Linked DNA regions of Homo sapiens: region 2 is linked to region 1. The links are contacts of gene promoters, found by promoter capture Hi-C in human tissues and cell types (Jung and others, 2019). All regions are on one chromosome and are shown on one strand. The core of a region is centred on a gene start or on the middle of the fragment in contact, and the rest is flanking DNA. Distances in the headings are between cores, read along the strand shown. Region 1 holds the start of AARD (alanine and arginine rich domain containing protein). Region 2 has its middle 41 kb from the start of AARD.

Region 1 (6,245 bases), core at 2,454-4,953:
AGTCCAAGAAAGCTTAGTCCAACATAATCTTTGTATTATAACTGAAAACTAATGATCAACTACTTGCAAATTTCTTCAGCTAGGGCTTGTTTAATGCAGTTCACGAGGAATTTGTTCTCTCTGCTAAAAAAGCTTCATCAGCTTGTCAATAGAAACCACCCCAGGATGAACCAGGACAGTGTGTTGGTAAAAAGCAAATATTCATGGTCATCTGATTTGCAAAATAAAGCTACTGGATAAAATTATCTTTCAGTTTTTCTCTGAGACATTCCTCTCCATTCTGAAGCACCTAGAATCATTTTTCTGACAGCAAGAATTAGCAAAGAATAAAGTAAATGAATATCCAGCAAACAAGCACTAACAGTAACCACACAACCACCACAACAAAAAACCCTTGCACCTTGCCTGCAGGAAGCTTCAGCTCTCTAGGGTGGCCCAGATGCTCTATAATCCTGCCCTACTTTGAGCTTCCTTTCCTGGCCCTCTTTCCCATGCCAGCTCCCATTGCAGCTGGTCAGAAACCTTGCCAGTCCCTAAATAAATGCTGAGCTGAAGCTCACCTCTTTCTGTCCCCATTTCTGTTTAAGATGCCCTTTGCCACCTCTCTCTGCTGAACCCAGTCAAATGCCAGCTCTTCTGAGAAGCCCTCCCTGATTGCATGGGCAGACATAATTGCCTCTCATCTGTGCATCCACAGCACTCTGTACAAGTGCCTCATAACACGCTGACCAGACGAGACTGATGATTTTGAGGGTAGAGGCTGTATATTATTCATAATTGTATCCCCAACTAAGAGTGCACTGCCTGGGCACACAACCTAGTAGGTTCTCTGTGTGTTTGTTATAAGAGTGAGTGAATTAATTAATTAATTAATTAACTGATGAATATCCGTCCTGTACTTTCATGCAAGAATCAAGGAGAAAAATTATTGGTAATGATTTACCATCTAAGTAAAATAAGTATGTATAATTCACACTTACTTAGGAAATTCAAACATCAATGGTTCTTTAACTTTTCTTTCATCAAGGATCCCTCTGAGAATCTGATGAAAGTTATGAACCCTCTCTGAGGAAAAACTATATGCACATCAAAAATTCTGCATACAATTTTAGGTATATAGAACCCCTGAGATGCACTCACAGACCCTAGAAGTGAATGATTCTTACTAAGAAAACCCAGTCAAACAATAGAAAATAGTATAAATTGCAACACAACTCTAAATTAATTAAATTTGTTCATCGTTCCTTACGAATATCATCCTAATATATGATACATGTACACTTGTATAGGAATATATGTCAGTTCCTGTAAAAATCCAGTTAATAGCCGAAAATTGAAAACTAAGTCTTCTAGTGGTAATGATATTAAGGTACAGTATCCACACTCCTTTGCCTCTTCTTTATGACCAGGATAAAATGATTGACCAAGATGTTGACCATCGTCTGTAACCCAAGGACACATTATTTGTGTATGTGTAAACTTCTCTGGTTCCTTTCCAGAAAAACTCCTGATTTTTTTATAGGAATGTATCAGTTCTTTTTTGGTACAGTCAGAGTCCAAGGTCTATAGTAATCATTATAATAATAAGAGCCACTAAACAATACCCATGGTCTAAGCATTTCATGGAATATTATCTCACATAAGCTCTGGAATCCTATGAGATTATAAATTCCATTTTACAGATGGGTAAACAAACTCAAACTGGCTAAGTAACGATCCCAAAGTTGTAAGGCCAACAAGTGTTAGCAGAACCTGTAAATGGTAATGTTGGTATTTGAGCCCTCATCTGTTTAGATTTTATTGCCACCAGCGGTCTACAGCCATACCACCCTGAACGCACCCGATCTCGTGAGATTTTATTGCCACCCCCAACATATTGCTTGTCTAAAGCTCCTAACAAGCAACTTATTAAAATGTTATGATTGAAAGCTGTCTCTGAGCTTATTCAGTGTAATCTCCTCATCTGATTTAAATATGAGTCCCCTGAGGCTCAGGAAGGAGTACCGGCAGATCCCAAGACTACAATGCAGAGATGGCTGCGCCAGGTTTCAGCCTTCCAGTTTAGCATCCTGGCCCATAGCACAGGCCTCCAGTGGCCGAATGAGGTGGCTCCGGCTACCCTGCAGCTCAGACTCACTGCTTAGACTCAGGGTGAAAACCAGGTGTTTCTTTGACATTGTTGGATAAGATAGTAAATCTGGTAGTAAATCTAATGTAACCCATGTTAACAATCTGAATCTGACACGGAATTTAGGATATTGTCCTTTTTTTGTTTTTGAGACGTTGTTTCACTCATGTCTCCCAGGCTGGAGTGCAATGGCGCAATCTCAGCCCACTGCAGCCTCTGCCTCCCAGGTTCAAGCGATTCTCCTGCATCAGCCTCTGGAGTAGTTGGGATTACAGGTGCCAGCCACCATACCTGGCTAATTTTTGTATTTTTAGTAGAGACAGGACTTCACCATTTTGGCCAGGCTGGTCTCGAACTCCTGGCCTCAGGTGATCCACTTGCCTCGGCCTCCCAAAGAGCTAGGATTACAGGCATGAGCCACAGCTCCGGCCTAATACTGTTCTTCTTAAACTTAGAAATGCGATAACATTCTTAAATAAGACAATTTACTAATGGTTGGCTCAGTTCTAAAGTAGTGGTTAATTGTATTAGTAATCAGTGCAAAAGAGAAGAATTTTCCAAGTCAAGTCTCCACTGCACACTTTCCTAGGCAGCACCATTTTAAAGTCTGATTGCTCCTATTCATTGTGTCCTTTTCAAGTTGTGACTAATTTCCAGTTTTTTGAATTAAAAAAAATCAGTCAGCTAAAATATTTACCTATACACCCTCCTGTTTAATATTCGGATGTAACCTGTGTAATGTTCGAAATGGTGCAATTTTACAAAATACCTTATCACTTCCAGTTTTCTAAATTATTACCCACGGGAAAGATAAGAATAAAACTTGCGGGGCATAAAGAAAGAGTTACTGATGGACACACTCCATCAATCGCAAGAGAGAGTTTATTTCATGGAAATTTCCTCCTCCGCGAGCCATACATACACATAGTCACAGTTCCCTACAGGGCAGAAAACTATAGAAACGGGTTGGGGAGGAGACATCTTGGGTATGTCACTGGTAGACCAGGCACCCCCGCCCCCACCCCCCACCATGGGTCCTGCAGGGCCCTTTTCCTTCCCAACGATGCTGGGGAGGCGGGGGCGTCAACGCCGTGTCCAGACCTGAGGGGCCCCCCAAGGCGTCGGGTGGGCTACGCGGCCAGCGGCTCTGCAGCTGGAGGAGAGGACCCGGGAGAGGGAGCCCTGGGAGCCGTCCGCCTAGCCCGCTCTCTCACCAGCTCCGCCCGCAGCCTGGCCAGGGTGGCCTCAACGCCCGTCCAGCTCTGCTCCTCCCGCGCCGCCGCCGCCGCCGCCGCCTCCTGCACGCGCCTCGAGATCGCGCGCTGCACCGCCCACTGGAAGGCGCGCGTCAGCCGTCGTCTGAGGTCCTCCAGCAGCGGGCTGGCGGCGAGGGCCTCCTCCTGGATGTCCGTGCTCCTGCCGTCCCCGAAGAAGTCGCACGCGGGACGAGGTGGGAACCAAAGCTCCGCTCTACCTGGGAGTCCCTGGAGCCCCTGGGAAATTCTCTCTCTGCAGCGGCGGAAGTCCCCGGGGCCCATCGCGGAGACGCCTGGTCACTGCTCTACCGCTGCTGCTGAAAGATGAGTTTCTAAGTTTGATGTTTAGGGCGGGGTCAGGGCGGGGGCGGAGGTAATTCAAGGACCCTTGCCAAGTGGGATGCTGCAACTGCCCCGCCATTCAGAGACGCTCCTTTGCTCCCAGTCCCATCTTAGTCCTCCATTAGCGACAGAGGAAGGAGGCGGTTCCCATAACTCCAGGAGAAGTTTAAGCTGAGTCGCTTTTTTCTGCTGCTTGCATTGAAAGGAAGTCTTTCTAAGGAGAAGGCTTGGTAACTGAGCAGTCAGCCTATGTAAGTGGAAGTTGAGGTACAGGTGGAAGGTTTATGACCAAAGGTTAGAATATTTCAACCCAAAGCCTTCCTGGTTGCCTTGATCGTCTAATACGTCATTCCTTAAAAACAATTTTTTTTCTTCCTACTCTGCCAGGCACTTTGCCAAGTTTGGGGAATGCAAAGGCTTAATTAGACCCCTCACCTTTCCCCAGGTATTGCCCGCAGTCAAGGGGGAGAGCCTTGGCCCTGCTTGCTAGTTAGAATGTACCTTCTACAGGTTCAGTAAGGCATACCTGGAAGTCTGAGTCTCCATGCTCCTTTCTATTTTGACTCCTGTCTGCCATGTCCACGTTTATGAAGGGGTTAAAATGAAAAATCAAAATTCCCCTTAGCCCAAAGTGTGTGTGTTTAATTCCCAACTAATAAGGTTTGGCTCTGTGTCATCACCAAATTCCAGTGGAATTGTAATCCCCAGTGTTGGAGATGAAGCCTGGTGGGAGGTGATTGGATCATGGAGGTAGAGTTCTCATGAATGGGTTTAGCCCCATTCCCGCCTGGTACTTTATAGTGAATGAGTTCTTACCAGATCTGGTTGTTTAAAGTGTATGGCACCTCCTCTCTCTCTCTCACTCCTGCTCTGCCATGTAAGACACTTGCTCTCGCTTTGCCTTCCACTATGAGTAAAAGCTCCCTGAGGCCTCCCCAGAAGCAGATGCTGCCATGCTTTCTGTATAGCATACAGAACCATGAGCCAATTAAACCTCTTTTCTTTCCAAATTACCCAGTCTCCGGTATTTCTTTATAGCAGTGAGAGGACAGACTAATACACCAACTCCAGGTAATCATGTGCCAATATTACCTGTATATCCTTTATCAAAGAACATATTCTGCCTCTTTTTGATCTAATAGGGAATTTCTAAAAAGGAGTGAACAATCAAAACTTTTGTATGATCAAAGAATGCAATTACAAAAAAAAACAAAACATAGTTTAGACACAACTCTCATCTTATTCATCATTCATTCATTCATTCATTCAAAAGTTACAAGTCACTTGCAATGTTCCAGGGTCCATGGTAGGCATTGAAGGCAATAACAACTGATTTTTATTCATGCTTAGTATGTGCCAGGCAATTTTTATGTATTAATCTTCACAGCAACCTTGTGAGGTAAGTACTATTAGTTTCTGCATTTTACAATTGAGGAAACTAAGGCAAGAGATTAAGACGTACACCAAAGATCTCAAAGCTGGTAAGGGATCCACTGGAAATTTGCACCTAGGAAGTCTGGCTTGTGCTCCAAACCACTGGGATACACCCTGGATACGCTTTATCTCCCAAAGAGGAAGAGAGTTGCTCAGTTTATATGTTGCATGAGTGAGTGAGTAAGAGTGAATAAGTGTTTAAATTCACTATGTTCATAAAATTCGGCTCTATTGAAATGGCTTAAGGCTCAACTGGATAAGGAACAATACAGGTTACTCAGCCTGTGCAGATAATCTACTAAATTGAACAGCTTGCAATAGTTTACAACCCAAGCACAGTAAAATTCCTACCATTGTATATTGCTTCATAAAGATTCCCTAGAAACATCTGAAGATGTGTTGTCTTGGTAGAAATTATAAAAATCCATGTGGTCTGCCATGCAGCAATGGAGTGTGAATTTAGGGTTTTTTGTTTGTTGGTTGGTGATAGGTTGATGGGGCTTGAAAACCACCACTAGTCAATGTACAATATAAACGTTTAAAATGAATTTTTTGCTATGATTTTTCACTTCCATTTCCAGATCATTTACTTCAACAAGAATTTCAGTTAAGTTCAATTTAACTCAACAGTGAATGGCGCATGTTCAGTGTTAAGAATTGTGCCATATGAGGGAGATACAAAGATGAATAAGGCATAGTTTTTGTCCCCCAGAAGCTTAAAACCTGAGGAAGCAAATTTATTGATTCATTCATTTAACAATATTTATTTAATGTCTTATTATGTACCAAGCATTACACAAGGTGCTCAAGCTACAATGGCAAACCAAGGAGACAAAATGTTTTTTTAAAATAAACTGGTTTACCACAAATTAATAATTTTCCTCTATAGGTTAATTTTTCAGTTGTGGTACACCTTGAATTTTACAATTTTTTTTCTTTCTCTTACACAGGCAAAGCAAATTGAAGAATTGGAGCACTGAATATAACATCCACAGACATTTGAATTAGAAAATGTATTAATTATTTATTGCTGCATAACAAATTACTCCAAAATTCAATGGTTTAAAAAAATAAACATTTATTTT
Region 2 (6,245 bases), core at 1,442-3,941, 42 kb before region 1:
ACGTGTGAGAGATTATTTGTGCAGCAGATTCTGGAACAATGTAATCTGGTTCAATGTCATTTTGTTCTGGACTGATAGGGAAAAAAATTGATTCTGACTGGAATAAATGGGATTGATTGATCAGTGGACAGGTTCCAGCCACCCACCATGCTGAACTGGACTAATTAAGTAAATAACTATCTTATTTGCTTTTATTAATCTTTCTTGTGTGTGTAGCTCACATTTATTGTAATGTAAAATATTAGAAGTATTTTATCTCTCTTTAGAAGTCTGGTGATGTTTTGTGACTACAAATATGCTGTAGGAATATCACTGTTGTTTCCATCAATCAGCCTATGGTAAAACTGGTTTCCCTACATATTGTTTTGCTTAAAGTTGCAGTCTCCAAGAATCTATGGACAATAATGTTAAGTGAAAACTTACTGTGTATGAATATTCATAGTGGCATTGTTAGCAACAAGATATGAAAAAAAAAAACTGGAAACAACCTAAATGTTTACAGTGAAGATTTTTTTCAGTCACCTCAAATTCTTTGACATTAAGCATATGAAAGAATGGCCAACATCACTAACCATTAGAGAAATACAAATCAAAACCACAATGAGATACCATCTATGACATCAGTCAGAATGGCTATTACTAAAAATGAAAAAATAACAGATTCTGGCAAGGTTGCAGAGAAAAGGGAATGTTTATACACTGCTGGTGGGAATATAAATTAGTTTAGCCATTGTGGAAAGCAGTGTAACAATTTCTCAAAGAACTCAAAGCAGAATTACCATTCAACCCAGCAATCCTATTACTGAGTATATACACAAAGGAATGTAAATGATTCTATCATAAAGACACATGCACACATATGTTCATCACAGCACTATTCACAATAGCAAAGACACAGAATCAACCTAAATGCCCATCAATCATAGACTGGATTTAAAATATGTAGTACATACACACCATGGAATACTACACAGCCATAAAAAAGAACAAGATCATGTCTTTTGCAGCAACATGGATGGAGTGGGAGGCCATTATCCTAAGTGAGCTAATATAGAAACAGAAAGTCAAATACCACATGTTCTCACCCACAAGTGGGAGCTGAACATTTAGTACATATGCATACAAAGTAGGGAACAACAGATACTAGGACCTGCTTGAGGGTAGTGAGAGGGAGGAATGGGAGGATCGAAAAACTACCTAACAGGTGCTATGCTTATTACCTGGGTGGTGAAATAATCTGTATGCTAAACTCCTGTGACATGCAATTTACCTGTATAACAAACCTACACACGTACTCTTGAATCTAAAATATAACTTTAAAAAAAATAAGTAGGACTGACTTCTCCTCCTCTTGTATCAGGGCCTACTTGTGACTTCACATGAGTGTGTGAACCAAGAGAGGACTGTGGAAGGGATGCTTTGTGAGTTCTGAGCCTTGGTCAAGAAAAGTCATGTAGCTTCCACCTGGTTCTCTAGAGCACCAAGCTGTCAAGCAAAAAGTGCAGCTACCACAAAGTCACCATACTAGAGTGAGAGTCCCAGCTTAGCACAGCCTTCCAGCCAACACATCACCGCAAATTGCTACACATGGAAGTGAAATTATTGTGGCAGTACATCCTTCAGTCCAACCATTTAACACCTCCAGTACCAGCCGATGGCCAAGACATCACTAAGCAGAAGAGCCATCCCATGGGCCCTGCCTGAATTTGTGACCCTCGGTGTTGGTGAGCATTTATAAAATGGTTGTTGTTTTATGCCACTAAGTTTAGGGTGACTTGTTATGCAGCAATAGTAATTAGAACACCCATTCATTAAATAAATTTGTTAACCAAATCATAGTGAAATCCTATGGCACCATCAGAAATGATAGTGTCTTTATAATAATTAATATGTGAAAATCACATTAGCAGAAATATTCATATGTGCATTGGTTGAGAGGTAACAGACATGTCTGGAAGGATAATCACCTAAAGGTGATGGTAGTTGCCTTTCGATGGGGGTGTGTTTTGAGAGTGTTCCTTCATTCTTTACCTTGTTCTGCTGCAGCATAGAGTTTTCTATTCCCCTTTCCAGTTGTAGACTCATCTTCCAGTTGCTGTGTGTGTTGGCTGATAAATAACTCACAGTTGTCCTTTTTTCTGGAGAATTGCTCTTGGCCAAATGAAAGTCTTTTTGCCAAGATGACACTTTATATCCCCAGACCTCAGCCAATGACTGACTGACACAAGGAAATCAGAGCCAGCCTCCTCACTTCAAGGGAGGACCAACTGTGTGGTGTGATTTCTGCTCCAGAACTTCCTGTGGGATGAGATTAAAGCTGGTCTCCAGCTGAGACTACATACTGCTTAAATTCTCCCCCTGCCCTTTCCTGCTACCTCAGTCCCCTCCTCCCAAGAAGACTCTCCCTACAGATCACCTGGACAAGACTCCCCATTTCAGGCCCAGCCTCTGTAGAATCCATTCTAAGACAAATATGTATTATTTTTACAAATAAATCACAATAACTAAACAGCCCAAAACTACCAAAAAAAGTGATGCATCAATCACATGGCAGGGGTTAAGATAAAATTAAGGCAATATGTACTTATTTGAAATTTCAGCAGCCCAGATTATAAAATCTCTACTAAGGTTATATAAAGTTTCTCAAGCCTCAGAAGGAGCAGGGATCAAGGAATCACATCCATAGTCGTTCCCTTTGTTTTAATAACATCATTTAGGGTATTGGTCATTGTGATTTTCAGAAAAGTCAAACCTGATGTTATGCTGTCTTCACTTTCTTTTCTTCCTTCCTCTAAGCTTCTGTTTCTTTGGAAATGATCCTATCCTTACCTCATAAAAGTTTTTAATTTTCCTTCTCATTTTATTTCTGCTGCAAGAGAATGCTATTTGTTGGCATGGTCCCAGCAATCAAGCTCCTGGGTAAAAAGGTCCAGGGCAGAAGATAACAGACTGCTTTCATGGGTAGCGACATCTTGCAAATGCCTTATTTCAGGGGCCCTCTTAGGGGAAGCTCACCTCTCCCGGGACAAGTGAGTACATGAAGAATCCACTTGCGTTGGCCTCACACTTCTGCTCTGTGCCTCCATGGCCTTTGGCATAGGTTCTGCCATTTTTCTTCAGACAGTCCCCTGAGGACACTGTAAGGAAACTTGGTCCAGAAATTTTCAAGACTTGGACAAATGCCGTTCAGAAATGGGTCTGAGACCACCAGTACCCAAAGATTCGTTAAAGTCTCATCAGAGGACCACTAATCTCCGGTCCTATCTAACCTTGGCAGAATGGAAGCCAACGACAGGGAAAGAAAGATGTCCTGCTCCATTTCTGGATTCCCCAAGACATTTAGTCTCTATCCCTTCTCTGCTTTATGCATTTATGTTTTCTTCGAGGAGGATAACGTTGGAGTAAATTGTAACCCAGTCACACCTAGAATGAGTGCTTAAAAGAGACACAATTATCTTTATGATTTGTTTTCTTTTTTTTTTTTTTTTTTTTTTTTTTGAGACAGGGTCTCACGCTATTGCCCAGGCTGGAGTGCAATGGCAAAATCACTGCTTACTTTAACCTCCGCTTCCCAGGTTCGAGCCATTCTCATGCCTCAGCCTCCCGAGTAGCTGGGATACTACAAGCGTGTGTCACCACACCCAGCTAATTTTTGTATTTTTAGTAGAGACGGGGTTTCATCATGTTGCCCAGGCTGGTCTCAAACACCTGACCTCAAGTGATCCACCCTCCTCGGCCTTCCAAAGTGCTGGGATTACAGGCATGAGCTACTGTGCCCGGCCTCCTTATGATTTAAAAAAAAAAGAAAAAAAGAAAGAAAAAAAAAAGATACAGCCCTTCACAGGTAGGATGACAGTGACTCACAGGTGTTTCTAAAACAGAAATGCACATATAGGTGAGCATATGCATATATATATGAAGCATTCTTAAGGCTGCTGGAGACTGATGCATTTTTAAGGCCACTGGACTGGTCTCAGAAAATTTCCAGAAAATAATTATCTATGCAGAATATCTCCAAGGGGCAGCATCAGATTATGTCTGAACACTTAAGACATATTTGTAGTAAATACACAGCATGTGGCTTTCTTTCATAACATTTTTGTGAGATATTTTATTTAAGCTCTTGCACATACTGTAATAAGAGAGAAAAGAGACAAAGGGAAAAAAAGAGCAAGCAATAATCACCACCTGTCAGACTTAACGTGCATTTTTATCCTCAGTTTGCAATATTACTAATCACCTCATTTAGATTAGAAGCGTGCCAAGAAAAGACTATATAAAGCATCAAGCATCATGTATGCTCAAAATAACTGTTAGAGCATCATAGCCAGTGGTTTTATGTGTTTCTTCATTTCTATTCAATGATGCAAATGGTATCCAAAATTCTTACCCCATCCTTCCCAAAGTCTTTTAACAGTAACATAGATTTTACATACCTATTCCTCATTCAGTCAGTCAACAAGCATATTCATTATTAATAATAATATCAAACACTGACTAAAAAAAATACAATATGCAAGGTACCAGGCTAAGACTTTATGTATGTAACCAGTATGTTGATAGACCAGGACTTTTATGTTGAGTACTAGTTAGAGACTAGGCTATACTGGTTTGAAAAAGTGACCAAAATACAGGAAGGTTACAGGAAGGTTAAATGGGAAGGGTGCTTTTCTTTTTCAGGACAACCTAGAGGGGAACTGACCAAAGTTGGCAAGATAGCTCTGCCATCTTTAACATGCTCTTCGGGTACTAGCCATTTCCCAGCAAGCAGAAGGGAAGAAAAGGAACGTTCATGGGAAACAGCTTATCTTTAAGAAATTCATGTAAAAATATAACCATCAGAGCTGAGAAAACTAAGCTGAGCTTATTCATTGCCAGGCAAAACAGGCTTTCCCTTCCCCCACATCCAATAGAAAGTGGTAGAGCAGGCTGGGAGTGGTGGCTCACACCTGTAATCCCAACACTTTGGGAGGCCGAGGCAGGTGGATCATGAGATCAAGAGATTGAGACCATCTTGGCCAACATGGTGAAATCCCATCTCTACTTAACATACAAAAATTAGCCAGGTGTGGTGACACACGCCTGTAGTCTCAGCTACTCAGGAAGCTGAGTTAGGAGAATTGCTTGAACCCGGGAGGCGGAGGTTGCAGTGAGCAGAGATCGCACCACTGCACTCCAGCCTGGGCGACAGAGCCAGACTCTATCTCAAAAAAAAAAAAAAAAAAAGTGGTAAAGTAGTAACAGTGTGTCTACAATAAACTCCCATTTAGGAAAAGAAAGAAAAGGCCAGGCACGGTGGCTCACGCCTGTAATCCCAATACTTTGGGAGGTGGAGGCAGGCGAATCACGAGGTCAGGAGATCAATACCATCCTGGCTAACACAGTGAAACCCCGTCTCTACTAAAAATACAAAAAAAAAAATTAGCCAGGTGTGGTGGCGGGCGCCTGTAGTCCCAGCTACTCGGGTGGCTGAGGCAGGAGAATGGCGTGAACCCAGGAGGCGGAGCTTGCAGTGAACGGAAATCGTGCCACTGCACTCCAGCCTGGGCAACAGAGCGACTGACTGAATCTCAAAAAAAAAAAAAAAAAAAAAAAGCAAGAAAAAGAAAAAGAAAGAAAAGGCCAGGCACGGTGGCTCCTGCCTATGATCCCAGCACTTTGGGAGGCTGAGACAGGCAGATCACAAGGTCAAGAGATCAAGACAATCCTGGCCAACATGGTGAAACCCTGTCTCTACTAAAAATACAAAAATTAGCCAGGTGTGGTGACACATGCTTGCAGTATCCCAGCTACTCGGGAGGCTGAGGCAGGAGAATCGCTTGAACCCAGGAGGTGGAGGTTGCAGTGAGCTGAGTTCGTGCCACTGCACTCCAGCCTGGCAACAGAGAGAGACTCTGTAAAAAAAAAAAAAAAAGAAAGAAAGAAAGAAAGAAAGAAAAATAAAAGGGGAAACTCAGCATCCCCTGGTCCACAGCAATGATGACATCCTGCTAAGTAGTCATTGTAAGACCCCCCTACCCCAGCAGAGGAACAGGTAACCTACATTGTGATGTCTGGGAATGATTCCCTGTCAATTGCCCTCTGCGCTCCTGGCTTTGCCCTCTGGAAGAGCCCTCTTTATCAGTTAGTCTCTGTAGCCCCAGCTGAAGACGTTGGAGAGTATGCCCTTCTAGGCAACAGATTTCCTGATTTCCTGCTCTTGCGTGCTTGAGAGTTTGATGGATTCCTTAGGGATCAGAACATTC

What was found. The method cuts DNA at HindIII sites, captures the fragments that hold promoters and counts their contacts. A contact is called where the count stands out against the background at its distance.
Region 2: a contact is called between a fragment that was not itself captured here and the fragment with the promoter of AARD in region 1, in 1 of the 25 tissues and cell types used here (H1 embryonic stem cells).

What each region holds. Positions count from the first base shown.
Region 1 is chr8:116,935,665-116,941,909 of GRCh38, reverse strand. It overlaps AARD (alanine and arginine rich domain containing protein), which reads right to left and starts at 3,703. Exons shown (of 2, transcript NM_001025357.3): 1 at 3,343-3,703. The coding sequence starts at 3,666. RefSeq lists a silencer at 3,334-3,433. The HindIII fragment of the contact is 10,639 bases long and covers 1-6,245 here.
Region 2 is chr8:116,976,492-116,982,736 of GRCh38, reverse strand. It overlaps a transcript of SLC30A8 not described here. Among named protein-coding and RNA genes, the nearest start is that of AARD, 41 kb to the right of the region's middle. The HindIII fragment of the contact is 4,108 bases long and covers 638-4,745 here.